Regions from separate parts of the Homo sapiens genome. Here region 2 is linked to region 1. The links are contacts of gene promoters, found by promoter capture Hi-C in human tissues and cell types (Jung and others, 2019). All regions are on one chromosome and are shown on one strand. Each heading gives the region's core, a stretch centred on a gene start or on the middle of the fragment in contact. The rest is flanking DNA. Distances are from core to core; before and after follow the strand shown.

Evidence for each region. The method cuts DNA at HindIII sites, captures the fragments that hold promoters and counts their contacts. A contact is called where the count stands out against the background at its distance.
Region 2: a fragment that was not itself captured here is called in contact with the fragment with the promoter of NDUFS5 in region 1 in 1 of the 25 tissues and cell types used here (aorta).

What each region holds. Positions count from the first base shown.
Region 1 is chr1:39,024,867-39,028,076 of GRCh38, reverse strand. NDUFS5 (NADH:ubiquinone oxidoreductase subunit S5) reads right to left here and starts at 1,727. Exons shown (of 3, transcript NM_004552.3): 1 at 1,675-1,727. RefSeq lists enhancers at 614-1,199, 1,200-1,786, 1,646-1,895. The HindIII fragment of the contact is 8,915 bases long and covers 1-3,210 here.
Region 2 is chr1:39,531,208-39,534,417 of GRCh38, reverse strand. It overlaps the pseudogene PPIEL. Among named protein-coding and RNA genes, the nearest start is that of PABPC4-AS1, 32 kb to the left of the region's middle. The HindIII fragment of the contact is 7,857 bases long and covers 1-3,210 here.

The sequences.
Region 1 (3,210 bases), core at 478-2,977:
AGGCCAAGGCGGGTGGATTACCTGAGGTCAGGAGTTCAAGACCAGCCTGGCCAATATGGTGAAATCCCGTCTCTACTAAAAATACAAAAAAATTAGCTGGGCGTGTTGGCACATGCCTGTAATCCCAACTATTCGGGAGGCTGAGACAGGAGAACTGCTTGAACTGGGGAGACAGAGGTTGCAATAAGCCAAGATCCGCCATTGTACTCCAGCCTGGGCGACAGAGCGAGACTCTGTCTCAAAAAAAAAAAAAAAAAAAAAAGAAGAAGAAGAAAAAAAGAATTTGGATCCTTTGGTCAGGTTCTCTGTCTCAAAAAAAAAAAAAAAAAAAAAAAAAGGCACTTGTGGTGGTATGTGCGCCTGTAGTCCCAGCTACTCCTAAGGCTGAGGCAGGAGACTGAGGCCAGGAGTTCAAGGCTTCAGTGAGCTATGACCTGGCCACTGCACTCCATCCTGGGCAACAAAGCGAGATCCTGTCTCAAAAAAAAAAAAAAACCAGAGCGAAAGAAATGGGTTAAGACTTACTTTGTAGACTATTACAGACAGTAGGGAAAAAAATTTACATGCAAATACATAATAATGTTAAATGTAAAAACACACACACAAAAACAAACCCTGACTGCCTAAAATGACTGAAAGGAAGCGCGCGCACACCCACAAATATCAATATAAATGTGTACTCATGGTAGATTTAAAGGTGAATTTAGTTGGGCGCAGTGGCTCACGCCTGTAATTCCAGCACCTTGGGAGGCCGAGGCGGGCGGATCACCTGAGGCCGCGAGTTCAAGACCAGCCTGACCAACATGGCGAAACCCTCTCTCTACTAAAAAAATACAAAATTAGCCGGGCGTGGGGGCGCATGCCTGTAATCCCAGCTACTCGGGAGTCTCAGGGAGGAGAATCGCTTGAATCCGGGAGGCAGAGGCTGCAGTGAGCCGAGATCGCGCCACTCTGCACTCCAGCCTGGGCAACAAGAGCGAAACTCCATCTCAACAAAAAGGTGAATTTAACTTCTTAAGTTCCTTCCCATCCCTCAGTCATCATTTACTGAGTAGTTACGTTCCAGGCACTCAGATGCGGGGGAAAGCAGCTCCAACGTAAGCACCAGAGACACACACTCGGAATTGCGAATACACTGCAAGGAACACGAGTGGGTAAGAGCTCGAAGGAGGAAGCACGAACTCTGCCCGGAGACTTGAAAATGCCTTTAACATGGCTTGCGAGTTCGCCAAGTGAAGATCAGTGGGCAGAGTGTTCCAGTTGGGCAACAGCCCGGAGTTACAGCCGGAAGTGCTGGCTATGTTTGGGGGACAATGGAGCGCAGCGTGCATGACGGTGAAAAGAATGAAATGAGCTCAGGAGGCCGGCGGGGCCGAAATCACGCAGAGCCTGGAAAGCTGGGATAAGGATCGTAGACTTTAGGTTAAGAAACAGAAAGCCAAAACATTAGTCCGGCAAAAACCTAAACAAATGTGGAAAGTGGAGAGAGCGGCAATCTCCAGGCTTCGGTGCCATTAGCTGTGGAGGTGAAGCGGCCTGGGAGGGCAGGGAACACGCCCTGAGTTCAGGTCTGGGAGAAGGGGACACACAGCAAGCCAAGAGGAAATCTGTTAAAGAGACCTCGGAAGGAAGGTCCTTAAGCTAAGCTGCCGCGCGGACATAAGCAGCCCCTACCTACCCGATGCTCGTGCCCTTGACTCTTCTCTGGCCGCCGCTTCAGAACGACTAGCTAGCGACGCGGACGCCTGCCGTAAAGGATGACCTCAGCGAGACGTTTGCAGCGCGACGCCGGAAGCCGACCTTCCCTCAGCCGTCTCCCCACAAAACCATAGAAACCGAGCCCGTTGGCCTGGTACGGTGGCTGACGTCTGCAATCCCAGCACCTTGGAAGGCTGAGGGAGGAAGATCACTTCAGCCCAGGAGTTCGAAAACAGCCTGGGCAACATGGCGAAACTCCCCTCTCTACAAAAAATAAAAAATTAGCCGGGCGAGGTGGTGCATGCCTGTGGTTCCAGCTACTCAGGAGGTTGAGGTGGGAGGATCCCTTGAGCCCAGGAGATTGAGGCTGTAGTGAGCCATGATCACACCATTCCATTGCATTCCAGCCCTGGCAACAGAGCAAGACCTTATCTCAGGGGGAGAGTGAGAGAGAGAGGATGAAGAAGAGAGAGAGGAGGTAGAGAGAGAGAAAGGAAAAAAAACCCAAACCCATCAATTACAGAGACACAGGGAAGGCCTAGCCATTAGTGAGTTCTTGCTCCTTTCTTGCACTCTGCCTAGCATGCTCACGACAACACTGAGTGGTGAGAGACTTCACCAAAGTCACAGGAGAGAAAGAACACTGGCTCCCTGCCTACCCACTAGTGGTTAAGCACATGGACTATGAGCCCAAACCACCACGTGGGGTCAAATGTAGGCCCCCAGCCGGGCGCAGTGGCTCAGGCCTGTAATCCCAGCACTATGGGAGGCCGAGGTGGGCGGATCACAAGCTCAGGAGATCGAGACCATCCTGGCCAATATGGTGAAACCCTGTCTCTACTAAAAATACAAAAATTAGCTGGGTGTGGCAGCGAGTGCCTGTAATCCCAGCTAGTGGGGGGAGGCCGAGGCAGGAGAATCGCTTGAATCCGGGAGGCGGAGGTTGCAGTGAGGTGAGATCGCGCCACTGGACTCCAGCCTGGCGACAGAGCTAGATTCAGTCTCAAAAAAAAAAAAAAAAAAAAAAAAAAAAAAAAAAAAAAGTAGGCCCCCACCAATTTCGTGTGACTCTAGGAAAGTTTCTTAACTTCATTGTGCCTCAGTCTCCTCGTCTGTTAAGATAATTATGGTATTCACAATGGAGGCTTGCTATAGGGATTAACTGATTTATGTATAAAGCACTGAGGCGGTGGCTAGCACATGGGAAACATTCCAAGGCAGTCGCAGTTCTTTGATGTCTCAGCTTTCAGTTTGTGAATCAACTGCTACCATGCCTGTCATCTGTTCCAGAACCTCCAATGACTCCCTTTGACTACATCAGAGACTCTAAAGTGTTGTGTGTATGTCTTTGGGGGGTGGACCACAGGGTGCATGAGATATTATACATTGGAGGTATGGGAGGAAAATACTAGAACATATATATATATATATATATATATATATATATATATATATATATAAATATATATATATATAATTATTACTTTTGAGACAGATTCTCACTCCCATTGC
Region 2 (3,210 bases), core at 386-2,885, 510 kb before region 1:
TTTTCAGTCGTCCTAGCACCATTTGTTGAAAAGGCTAGTTTTTTTCCTGTTTAATTGTCTTGGTATCCTTGGTGAATATAGTTGACCATAAATGTAAGGGTTTCTTCTGGATTCTAAATTATATTTTGTTGATCTGTATGTCTGTTATTAGGCCATTACTACTGTGTCTTAAATTCCATAGCTTTGTAGTAAATTTTTAATTCTGGAAATGCGAGTCCTCCAACTTTGTTTTTCCTTTCAAGATTGTTTTGGTTATCCTGAGTCTCTTACATTTCTTAAGAATTTTGGGATAAGCTTATCAACTCGTATGAAAAAAGCCAGCTAGGATTTTAATACAGATTGCACTGAATGTGAAGAATTTAGGAGTATCATCATCTTAACAATATTAAGTCTTCTGATCCATGAACACAGGATATCTTTTCATTTGTTTAGGTCTTCTTCAGTGTTTTTCAGTAATGTTCTTTGGTTTTCTTTTTTTTTTTTTTTTAATTGGGATGGGGTCTTGCTATGTTATCTAGGCTGGTCTCGAACTCCAGGGCTCAAGCAATCCTGCCACCTTGTCCTCCCAAAATGCTGGGATTATAGATGTAAGCCACCATGCCTAGCGAGTCAGAATTCTTTAAATATTTTAGATACAGGTCTCTTATCAGATGTATAATTTGCAAATAGTTTCTCTCATTCTTTTTTTTTTTTTTTTAGACAGGGTCTCACTGTATTGCCCAGGCTGGAGTGCAGTGGTGCAATCACAGCTCACCACAGTCTTGGAACTCCTGTACCCAAGTGGTCCTTATGTTTCAGCTTTACAACTAGTTGGAACTATAGGCACACACCACCACACCTGGCTAATTTTAAAAAATATTTTTGTAGACAGCTGTGACTGCACCATTGCACTCCAGCCTGGACAACAGAGCAAGACTCTTCTAAAAAAAATACACACACATATATATATAGCAATTATATTTCTTTTCTTATTTTTGAGACAGAGTCTTGCTATGTCGCCCAGGCTGGAGTGCAGTGGCAGCATCTCAGCTCACTGCAAGCTCCACCTCCCGGGTCCACGCCATTCTCCTGCCTCAGCCTCCTGAGTAGCTGGGACTACAGGCGCCCGCCACCACGCCGAGCTAATTTTTTGTATTTTTAGTAGAGATAGGGTTTCACCATGTTAGCCAGGATGGTCTCGATCTCCTGACCTTGTGATCTGCCCGCCTCGGCCTCCCAAAGTGTTGGGATTACGGGTGTGAGCCACCGTGCCTGGCCGTAGATATAGCAATTATATTTCTATACATCAGCAATGAACAACCTGAAAACAGAATAAAAAGAAAAACAATTATACTTACAATAGCATAAAAAAGAATAAAATATTTAGGAATAAGTTTAAAAGATGTATACAGCTTATACTTTGAAAACCACAAAACAGGCCAGGCATGGTGGTTCACACTCATAATCCCAGCACGTTGGGAGACTGAAGTGGGAAAATCACTTGAGTCCAGGAGTCTGAGACCAGCCCGAGTCAACATAATGAGACCTCATCTCTACAAAAATATATATAATCAATTGTATATTGATTTTGTATTCTGCAACATTGCTAAACTTGTTTAATAGTTCTTTTTTTTTTCTTTTTTTGAGATGGAGTCTCACTCTGTCGCCCAGGCTGGAGTGCGGTGGCACGATCTCAGCTCACTGCAACCTCCACCTCCCAGGTTCACGCCATTTTCCTGCCTCAGCCTCCTGAGTAGCTGGGACTACAGGCGCCCGCCACCACGCCTGGCTAATTTTTTGTATTTTTAGTAGAGATGGGGTTTCACCGTGTTAGCCAGGATGGTCTCAATTTCCTGACCTTGTGATCCGCGCACCTTGGCCTCCCAAAGTGCTGGGGTTACAGGCGTGAGCCACCATGCCCGGCCTGTTTATTAGTTCTAATAGTTTTTTTTGTGGATTTTTTAGGATTTTCTATATGCAAGAGTGTGTCATCTGCAAATAGAAATAGCTTTACATTTTCCTTGCCGATTGGATGCCTTTCATTTCATTTTTTTCACCTAATTACCCTGGCTAGAACCTTCAGTACAATGTTGAATAGAAGTGTCAAGGGCAGATATCCTCGTCTTGTTCCTGACCTTAGGGGGAAAGCATCTTGTCTTTCACATGTAGTTTTCTGTTGATACCTTTTATCAGATTGAGAAAGTTCCCCCTTCCACTCCTAGTTTATTGAGTTTTCATTATGAAAAGGTGTTGGATTTTGTCTACTGCTTTTTCTGTATCTGAGATGATTATGTGGTTTTTGTTCTTTATACTATTGATAATTGTCTATTACATTGATTGATTTTTAGATGTTAAACCAACTTTGCATTCCTGAGATGAATCCACATCTTTTTTGGGTGGCTGTATTTCACTAGATTGTGAGCTCCACCACTGTTAGGGCCAGTGTCCCCAGGGGGCAGGTAGGGGTGGATGTCCCTAAAGTCTGTCTTTATTCTGCTCCTTCACTCCCCTGAGTGTCCCCTCTTCTATTCTGTCTGCAAAGGCAAGGATGGGAAGCCAAGGCAGAAGGTGATCATTGGCAACTGTGGGGAGTATGTGTGAGGCGGCACTCTCTCTGCTCTCCACTCTGCTCTTGCCCCTGCACATCCAGGAAGGAGCTGCCAGCCTCAGAGGAGGCAGCACCGAGGGTGCCCTATTTGAAGCAAGCAGGATTTGTGGCATGAGGCCCACCTTAGGGTCAGCTTGGAGCACCTCTGTAGGCACAGCCTGGACTGTTCCCAAGTGCAGCTGTGGGCCCACGAACCAGCACAGGTGCTCCTTCTCCAACCACCACTTTTCTCGGCATTTGCTGCTGGGTCTGCTGTGGGCCCACCAATGTGGCTCCTGGATGTTTTGTTCTCTTTGGTTTGCTAAAATAAATTCTAGTTCTTATACTGCTGCCTGCCAGCCAGGTCCCAGGTGTTTTCAGAGGTTGCTGCTGGGACAGGCCATAGCATCTCGGCTGCTGCTCTTCTCTCTTAGGCCAAGTCCCTTAGGAGATGCCCTCGGCAGCCCATTGTGGGGCAGTAGAAGTCAAAGCCATGTAAAAGTGCCTGTGTCTTTTCTTTCTGGTCAGTTACCATTCCTGCTCTCACACCAGCTGGTCTTGTGCCTGATGGACATTTGTAATCAGTCTCACTGACCTGGCACTCATTATGCACTTCCTGAACCAACAGAACTGTATTACCGAGG